2 separate regions of the Homo sapiens genome follow, and region 1 is linked to region 2. The links are contacts of gene promoters, found by promoter capture Hi-C in human tissues and cell types (Jung and others, 2019). All regions are on one chromosome and are shown on one strand. The core of a region is centred on a gene start or on the middle of the fragment in contact, and the rest is flanking DNA. Distances in the headings are between cores, read along the strand shown.

Evidence for each region. The method cuts DNA at HindIII sites, captures the fragments that hold promoters and counts their contacts. A contact is called where the count stands out against the background at its distance.
Region 1: a contact is called between a fragment that was not itself captured here and the fragment with the promoter of OGN in region 2, in 1 of the 25 tissues and cell types used here (aorta).

What each region holds. Positions count from the first base shown.
Region 1 is chr9:92,436,991-92,441,530 of GRCh38, reverse strand. All of the region lies in intron 5 of CENPP (centromere protein P), which reads right to left. Among named protein-coding and RNA genes, the nearest start is that of OMD, 15 kb to the right of the region's middle. The HindIII fragment of the contact is 4,423 bases long and covers 1,079-4,540 here.
Region 2 is chr9:92,403,272-92,409,258 of GRCh38, reverse strand. OGN (osteoglycin) reads left to right here and starts at 4,681. Exons shown (of 7, transcript NM_014057.5): 1 at 4,681-4,763; 2 at 5,777-5,987. The coding sequence starts at 5,852. The region is part of intron 5 of CENPP (centromere protein P); the gene reads right to left. The HindIII fragment of the contact is 4,115 bases long and covers 2,945-5,987 here.

The DNA of each region.
Region 1 (4,540 bases), core at 2,041-4,540, 34 kb before region 2:
TGCCTCAGCCTCCCAAAGTGTGGGGATTACAGGTGTGAGCCACTGCACCTGGCCAATATACCTTTTAAGTCTTTTTTAACCTATACATTTCCCCTTCATCCCTTTTTTTCTTCCTTACATTTTATTTGATGGAGAAACCAAGTTGTTTGTCTCACAGGCATTTCCCACAGTCTAGATTTTGCTGACTGCGTACTTGTGGTGTACTTTAACATATTCCTCTGTCTGCATTTCCTATAAATTAGTAGTTGAATCCATACTGTCGACTTCTTATAAACTTTCTATTGATGTTTGATATATGTATAGAAAAGTACATAGATGATAAATATGTAGCTTGATTAATTTTAACACTGTAGTTACATACCATGTAAGTAACATCCAAAAGTATGACTAATAAAATACAAAAATTCATGCACTTGTTTTTTATTAACGTTTTCTTAAACATACAGATAGCTCACATTTATTTCAATGTTTAATATTAGAAGTGTTTTGGGTCTTCATTACGAAGTTCGGTGATGATTCTATAACCAGAAATATGCCACAGGAACTTAACACTTGTTTGATAACAATTAGCCTATGGTAAAATTGGTTTCATTATATGTCATTTCACTTAAAGTCGCAGTTTCAAAGAACCCATTGACGATGTTAAGTGAGGACTTACTGAACAATAGTCTCGGTTTTACCTTGGGGGATATGTTTCAAGACATCCCCTGTAGATGCCTGAAACCACAGCAAGTACAAAACCTGATTGTTGTCAGTCAAAACACATTTCTGTTCACGTCTTCCACTCACAGATTTAATGCCTTTTCCCTCTTAACTAAATACTTATAATGCATTAATTGTGGTCATAACTTTCGCAGTTTGAGGTGCAACAGGAAACTAAACTAGTTTCTTTTTCCTTCTTCACAATTTTACAGATAGGAGATTTGGTCTTACTACAGATGTTAGCACTCTTACCATACCATTCTTTTTCTTTCCTTATTAAGTTGAGAACTTTTACTAAGGGAAAAGTTTTCACTTAAGGGAAGCACTTTATAGATCAAGCTTGTCCAACCCACAGCCATGGCCCACTGTAGCCCAGGATGGCTTTGAATGTGGCCCAACACAAATTCGTAAGCTTTCTTAAAACATGATGAGTTTTCTTGTGATTTATTTATTTATTTATTTATTTATTTATTTATTTATTTTAACTCATCAGCTATCACTAGTGTTAGTGTGTTTTATGTGTGGCCCATGACAATTCTTTTTCTTCCAATGTGGCCCAGGGAAGCCAAAAGACTAGGCACCCCGTTATAGATTCTCTTTGACATAAGGTTTACTACAACGTAAGTGCTGGGATACCATGACAGGTGATCTGATAACCCTAAGTGACTAATGGGAGGTGAGTGTATATAGTGTGGATATGTTGCACACAGGGATGATTCATGTCCTGGACTAGACAGAGCTGGACAGCACAGGACTTCGTCAGGCTACTCAAAATAGCATGTAATTTGAAACATGAATTATTTCTTTCTGGAATTTTCCATTTAATATTTTTGGACCATGGTTGACCATGGGTAACTCAAATGGGGGAAAGCAAAACTGTGGATAAGGGGAGGCCACTGTAAATATTAACTTGAATAAACATAAGTAACAGAAATTCTGGTTCCTAGGTCTCTATATTCACCACTCTTATCCATACTTAGAATCATTTCACTACTTTGAAGATCAAAGAGTTCCTTTCACCCAAATGGTACTTGTAGTAATATTACATAATTCTACAGAAAATATAGAGGGGATCAGACCAATAAGACTCAAGAGCATTCCAAGAATTTTAACATGGGATTGAGAAAGAGGACTAGATATAAAGCGATATCCCATAAAATAATAGGAAGACAAAGAGAAGGTGGCATAGAAAGACAAAGGAGCCACACAAGTTTAGATGTGGAGCAGCCTCATTGAAACCTCTTCATTTTAAGATTATAAAACTGATTCTCCAGAGAGACAGGTGACTTAAGACCACCAACTCATGAAAAGCTGTGGCCAGGGCCTCCCATGCTGGTCAGCCACTGTGACTCTATAGCTAGTGGGGGCTGGGGAGGATTCTACAATCTCTGTTTATTTGGAAACACAGAATAGCTTATCACTTATTTCCCACATATTTTAAAAATATATATATTTTAAATTATTTTTTCCAAAAATAAGCCCATTAAATTTACTGAAAAAAATTACCTAATTTTCACCATGGGAGGGCAGTCTTATTCTAATAAGCTATGGAAGTCTGAAAATAAAGACAAGAAAGCCAGGTCTACTTTAAAATAGTCTTAAGCCACTATTATTATATTTTTAAAATTTAGCCAATAACTTCTAACTAGAAGCAAAAATAATAACACACGATCTAATAAAAATACTTGGGAAAACAAAAAGATGAAATACTTGAAAACGGACAAACAGAATTGTGCTTCATATGCAAAAAAATCTAAGTCACTTCCCCATACTGGAAAATCTTAATAAGAACAAAAGAACAGCACCAAGCATTTACTAAGGCCATACCACGTAGCAATAACAAATGAAGCAGTTTATTGATTGACCGATTGATTGACTGAGATGGAGTCTCGCTCTGTCACACAGGCTGGAGTGCAGTAATGCAACCTCAGCTTTGCAACCTCTGCCTCCCAGGTTCAGGAGATTCTCCTGCCTCAGCCTCCCAAGCAGCTGGGATTACAGGCACATGCCACCATGCCTGGTTAATTTTTGTATTTTTAGTAGTGACGGGGTTTCACCATGTTGGCCAGGCTGGCCTCGAACTCCTGACCTCAAGTGATCCACCTGCCTTGGCCTCCCAAAGTGCTGGGATTCCAGGCAAGAACCACCACACCCAGTCAAAAATGAAGCAGTTTAAATGCAATGTTTAAATACTAAGCACTCAATCATTATGAAATCTTAATAATGGTAGATGTAGACACACCAATCTCAAAAATTATATGAAAATGCAAAGGACTTACAACAGTGAAAACAATTTGGAAAAAGAACAACAAAGTTAGAGGATGTATACTCTCCAATGGCAGAACTTACTGTAAAACTACCCTAATAAGGAGGGCATGACACTGGTATAAGGCAGACACATAGAGCAATAGAACAGAACTGAGGATCAGAAACAAACCTGCACATTTATGGTTAACTAATTTTTGACAATGGAGAAATAACTGTCCTTTCAACAAATGGTGCTGAGACAATTGGATATTCACATGCAAAAAAGTGAACTTAGATCCTAACCTCACACCACACACAAAAATTAAATCAAAACAGATCATAGACCTAAATATAAGAGATAAAACTTATAAAACTTCTGGAAGAAACAGGAAAAAATATTTAAGACCTGAGGCAAAGAGTTCTTAGACTTGACACCAAAAGCATGAAAAATAAAAGATAAAAAATCATAAATTGGTCCCAGTGCAGTGGCTGACATCTGTAATCCCAGCACTATGGGTAGCTGAGGTGGGAGGATCACTTGAGCCTAGGAGTTCAAGACCAGCCTGGGCAACACAGGGAGACCTCATCTCTACAAACAATAAAAAAATTAGCCAGGTGTGGAGGCACATGCCTGTGGTCTCAGCTACTCGAGATGCTGAGGAGGGAGGATCACTGGAGGCTGAGGTGGGAGGATCACTGGAGGCTGAGGTGGGAGGATCACTTGAGCCTGGAAGGTTAAAGTTGCAGTAAGTTGTGATTGAGCCACTGCACTCCAGCCTGGGCAACAGAGTGAGACAGTGTCTCCAAAAAATAACTTATAAATTGGACTTTACAAAATTAATATTTATGTGCCAAAAGGCTATTAAGAAGATGAAAAGCCTAGGCACAATGGCTCATGCCTGTAATCCCAACACTTTGGGAAGCAGAGTGGATCGCTTAAGCCCAGGAATTCAAGATCAGCTTGGGCAACATGGCGAAACCCTGTCTCTACAAAAAATACAAAAATTAGCTGGGTGTGTTGGCATATGCCTGTGGTCTCAGCTACTCGGGAAGCTGAGGTGGGAGGATTACTTGAGCCCAGGAGGCAGAAGCTTCAGTGAACCAAGAACCTACTACTGCACTCCAGCCTGGGCAACATAGCGAGACTCTGTCCAAAAAAAAAAAACAAAACAAAAAAAAAGACAAAAGAAAAAGACTAATCATACACTAGAAGAAAAATATTACAAGCTATATATTTGATAAAGGACTTATATCCAGAATATACAAAGAACCCTTACAATGTGTAATAAGACAAAAACCCAATTAAAAAAAGGCAAATTGATATACAGTTTTAATGTAATTCCTACCAAAATCCCAGCAAGATTTATTTATTTATTTTTGAGACAGAGTTTCGCTCTTGTTGCCCAGGCTGGATTGCAATGGTGTGAGCTCTGCTCACTGCAACCTCCGACCCCTGGGTTTGAGCGATTCTCCTGCCACAGCCTCCTAAGTAGCTGGGATTACAGGCACCTGCCACCATGCCCGGCTAATTTTTTTGTATTTTTAGCAGAGATGGGGTTTCATCATGTTGGCCAGGCTGGTCTCAAACTCC
Region 2 (5,987 bases), core at 3,432-5,931:
TAATGGCTACACATCTGAAGTTTCTTATATGTTCCAATTTCCTAAATTGATATAACTATTCCAAGTTATAAATCTGCCTAGGTGTAAATATCATAACATCATGGACACATCTTGCATCACTTTACTTGTTTAGGTTATGAATTCACTATACAGAGATTTATGTACTACTGAGAAAAACTAAATTAACAAATAAAATACAATTTTACCATGAGCTCTTCCTTACATTGAGTCATAATTCTCTCCATATAAATTTTACCCTTTAGTCTGGGAAGTAAAATACATGGGTTCTCATATTTCTTGTTTGAACAAACAATTAGGCTTCAAGCATAAGTATGAGATTTAAGACGGAGATCCAAACCACAGACTTTCCACAAAATCCAGAATGCTGGATTAAAAAGGGTCTATGTGTATCTAGTAACTCAGCAGTTATCAATACGAATGATTTTGCTTCCCCAACCCCCACCCATCAGTGGACAGCTGGCAATGTCTGGAGACATTTTTGGTCATCACAAAGTAGGGGTGGGGGTGGGGTGCAACTACTAGCATCTAGTGGGTAGAAGGCAGAGGTGCTGCTAAACATCCTAAAGTGCACACAGGACAGCCCCCACAACAGAGAATTATCAGGTCCAAAATGTCAGTAGTGCAGAGGCTGAGGAACTCTGTAGTAACCCGATTCAATCGATAAAAGTTCAATCGATAAAAAAACTGTGGCCCAAAACGTTAAAGAACTTGCCAAGGTCAGGGGAAGGTTCATGAAGAATCAAAACTAGAACTCAGCTGGGTGCAATGGCTCACACCTGTAATCCCAGTACTTTGGGAGGCCGAGGCGGGCAAATCACGAGATCAAGAGATCGAGACCATCCTGGCTAACATGGTGAAACCCTGTCTCTACTGACAACATAAAAATTAGCTGGGCGTGGTGGCGCATGCCTGTAGTCCCAGCTACTCAGGAGGCTGAGGCAGAAGAATTGCTTAAACCCGGGAGGCGGAGGTTGCAGTGAGCTGAGATCGCACCACTGCACTCCAGCCTGGAGACAGAGCAAGACTCCGTCTCAAAAACAAACAAACAAACAAAAACTAGAACTCAGGTGTTTTGACTCCTAAACCAAACTATTTCCTACAAAGTTAGAGAATGAAGATGAAGATGGGGGAAAGACTCTTCTGGTTTGTAGCATTCATTGAAAGCTAATCCACTTGGAGGTCATATGGTCTCTATCAGAATTAAGCCACTCCCCAAAAATACTTTTTCCCTGGAAGCTCTTGTTTCCAAAATTCCATTCCATTCAACACATTTTTTTGGTTGCCAACAGACAAATGGTACACTTTTGAGGAAATAAAACCCCTATAAGGCACCAAAGATAATACAATAGGGTCACCTAAAAGAACTCCACAGAGGCCAAGGTGGATCACTTTAGGTCAAAAGTTCGAGACCAGCCTGGGTAACATAAGAGGACCCCGTCTCTACAATTCTTTTAATTTTTTTAATTAGCCAGGCATGGTGGTGCATGCCTGTAGTCCCAGCTACTCAGAAGGTTGAAGTGGGAGGATCATTTGGGCCCACAAAGTTGAGGCTGCAGAGAGTCATGATCGTGCCACTGCACTCCAGCTTGGGTGACAGAGCAAGACCTTGCCTTCATAAAAAGAATTCCACAAAGAAGACTCTTTCATCTTTGGATACAATGCCTGCTCTTGAGCATGAGACAGCTTTCATCTTTTACTCCTGTAGAGTAAAAGCTAAATAGCTTTCTATCAGCATTCAATTCTTTCTGGAATAGAAAATCACCTCAGTTTCAAGCATTTTATATTGAGTACTGTGTAGTAAAGATTTTGGCTTTGCCTAAAGAGAGGTCTGGGCTTTGCCTTGGCTTCTGAGAGGTGATCTATGTTATTTCTGATAGGAGTGTTTTTGTTTAGGGTGAGATCAGCCACACCTGATAGTCTTGAGGTAGAGGTGGCTATGCCAGGAAGACCAACCACGTGATGTAGGATAAGGGATTTGGGTTATGTAGTATCAGTGGACCAGGAGGCTGAATTCAATCAATCAATCAATCAAACCTATTAATAAAGCCCCAATAAAAACTCTGAACACTGAGAATAAGCTTGCCTGGTTGGCAATACCCCACATACACTGCCACATATCAACGTAAGGCAATGCATCCAGAGAACAATGGAAGTTTCAAGTCTGGAGCCTTCTAGACACTGCCCCTACGCATCTCCCCCTTTGGCTGATTTTAGGGTGTATCCTTTTTCTATATAAACCATAATCATGAGTATAATGGTCTTCAGTGAGTTCTGAGAGTTCTTCTAGGGAATTATCAAATGTAATAAGAGTGGTTCTAGGAATCTCCTGAAATTGCTGTTGGTATCAGAAGTGCGGGTAATACCCATCTTGCCAGAAGACTATTTCCTCCTCTAGCTGTGAAGAAGCAGGCTGCAATGTTGTGAGCTGCCCTTTTGAGGAAGTCACATGGCAAGGAACTGAGGGAGGCCGTCAGTCAACAGCTAGCAAGAAACTTACGTCCACAGTTTCACATTCTGCAAGGAACTGAATGCTGTCAACAACCACATGGGCTTAGAACTGGATCATTCCCTACTCAACCCCTGAAGTGAGGCTGCAGTGCCAGATGCACTTCAAATGCAGATCCTGAAGCAGACCATCAAGCAAAGACACGCCAAATTCCTGACCCACAGAAACTGTGAGATAATAAATGTGTGTTATTTTAACTAAGCCATTCCTTTGTGGTAGTTTTTTACACAGTAATAGATAACCACTACAATAGATGAACAGTGGTATTCTTCAGCAATGCAACATTAGAGGAATGTTTCTAAAATGCAAACAGGATCATATTTAAGCCATCACTGGCTTAAAAATCTCTACATGGTCTCTCACTGACTACAGACTAAAGCCCAAATACTTTAGCAGGATATAAAATACTTTCTTTAATCCAACCTCTATTCCCCCTGTCTAGTCGCATCTCTTAATATGGTCCATCCCCCTGACTTCTTCTCTCTCTCCCTCCAAGCTCCAGCAGTATGCAAAACAAATTATAAATTTTCTGAATGATCTACCCCCATCCCCTCCCTAAGGGGAGCACGTGATGATCCCCTTGCCTAGAATACCTCATCACCTGCGCTTACCCTCCTCTCCTATCCTCTCTATAGAAGTCAGTTTGGGTGCAGTCTCCTTGACTCCCAGTCAGTTTGTGGCTTCTCCCAGGTTATCACAGAACTCTGCATATTTCTGTGTAGCAAGCCCTACCATGGATTCTAGTTGCTTGTTTGCTGCTTTTCCTGCTGACTTAGAGGCTATAAATCTTCCTTGAGGGAAGAAACTGAAGTTTGCTTATCTGAGCTTACGTGTCTGAAGTCCTGGCACAGAATTGGCGCTCAATAAACTTTTATTAAATGAGTGAATGCTAATAACATTGTATTCACTGGTCATAACTTTTCAAGGAAAGTTGTTCTTCACAAAATAATTTTCTGTAGTACAAAGCATCAAAGTGTACCATTAATGAAACTATGAATCTCTAAGATTCTCTAAATTTGGACATATGGTATCTATCCAGCTTACTTCTCAATATCTTGTTAACTTGCCACACAATACAAAACAAATCAATGTCTGTTGTTTCATTATTATATATTTCAAAGTATTTAAAAAAGTTTTACTGTATCCTTGAAGCCATAAAACCAACAATTTATATCAACTCAAGCCAGACAATATCACAATTAAATTTAAGATAATTCACATTCAAATAAAAACTTCAGTGCTCAAGTCTTAGTTTATTTAAGCTTTGATTTGAAAGGTTCTAAAACAATTTTGTCTAGAAAAGAAAACAAATTGTTATTCTTTCATTTTCTATTTTAATAAAATATATATCCATATTTGTTAAATTTTTAGCTTAAAGGAGAAAAGTTAATTTGATTGGTAAAAGCACCAAGGAGGAATTTTTTAAAAGTGACTCTTTAAAAAAATCTTCAAAGTTGCTTGTATGGTATCTACAATGCCACTTTAATTTTTAAAAGCCAATTTCAATATTAAAGTAATTTTATAAAGTTTCCTTCATTCAGCAAACAAAAGTATCTTTTACTATCAACCTCAAAAACTATAAATCAAATTTACTTTTAAAAAGCTAATTTTTATGCATCAGTTTTTCTTATATGTAACTAAAATAAAGGGGAGAAAAAATCCAAATGACAAAACTATCAAATAATTTGTGCTAAAACTAATTTTTACACTGGAAAAATATATTACACTGGCTATATATTAATTATGGTATTAGGGCAATATTTTTAATCCTCATAAAATTAACAACATGGACTATGTTGTCATTTGGTGTCCTATTTCATTCAAAAAGCAGATTGTTTGATCTCCTGGGAAATCACCAAAATGAAAAGGATGACTTTAAAACTATATCATTTTTCATAAACTAATATTCACCAAAACATGAATGTTTATTACACAATAATAAAATCACACAAGTTTATAGTCAAATTAGTTGAAGCAGACTGAGTGCAGCAGTTACAACAAATAACTTAAGCACAGTTCTCTAGTACAACACACTGCATTTCACCCTAGAGAAAGAATGCTGGCAAAGATCTCTACCACATGGAAACTGTTCTTAAAGCTGCTGGGCCCTGAAATTTTACTCAGCAGTTTGAAATCAAGACATAGCTTTTCTCATTCACCCTCCCACTTGGGGCTAATGCACAGACATGAACATCTATTGAGGAAAACCACAAAAAACTTCAAAACAGCTACAACGGTAGGCTTACTTTTCATATATTATTTTAAATATTGTTTGTTAAAGTGCGACTGACTCATCTAATAGTCTTAATAAATGTAAAGGCCATCTCTGGTTTAAGTTTCAGTTACCTCAATTAATTTTTAAGAAGTACTTATGTATATCATCGCATAAATTTAACATCCACGCAGGCAAGAATAGGGTGCTGCAGAAGTCACAAATCCATTATCTTCTTCATTTTCAACCTCTGGATTTTTGACAAACTGGCATCTATAATGCAGCATCAGCAACTCTTGAGTGATTCTGTTTGAAGTTACTTAAGAAAAAGTCTGAAATGTGTACCCACCAGAGAAAATCCATTGATGAGCCTAAAGGAATCCTTTCTATTACATTCCTCAAAGTTCTTTGATTAAAGTTCGGTATTTCCTCTAGCCTGCAATACTATTCTTTCAGTTTTCTTAGCTTAAATTAAAAATACAATACTATTAACTAAAAATTATGATCACCTATTAAAATTACAAAACTAAGAAAATTAAAAACGTATGGCTTTTCCTATATTCTGTACCACCTAAAGGTGTTAATGACTACTTTTCATAATGTTAAATTTAAGTTTTAAAACTTTTCTTGGAACTTGTTTCTGTTCATACCAATATAAATCAAGAGTTCTTATAAAGTAGCTAAGTGGAAATATGATATTTTTAACTCACATGAGACAGGATCTTGGGACTTTATTTTAACTATTTATACTACAGGTATCCTAAGAATATTTCAATTAAATATTAGTATGTCTGCTGAAGGCACTTAATTATTAAGAAACTTAAAATTATCAATCTTTCTTGAATTTCTGATAGAGAAGTAAAACTATTTTCCAAAACTATTTTTCAGAATGTTCACTGATACATAAAAACTGCTAGCATCTAATTAAAGATCACTAAGGGTTAAATACTGTTCTCTGGCCCTTACTGCGCACACCCTGCCAAAACATCCTCTAAGCTTTTAAATATTGCTTCGATGGTCTGAATTTTTATTTCCAGGGAAAAAGAGAGTTTTGTCCCACAGTCAGCAGGCCACTAGTTTATTAACTTCCAGTCACCTTGATTTTTGCTAAAATGAAGACTCTGCAGTCTACACTTCTCCTGTTACTGCTTGTGCCTCTGATAAAGCCAGCACCACCAACCCAGCAGGACTCACGCATTATCTATGATTATGGAACAGATAATTTTGAAGAATCCATATTTAGCCAAG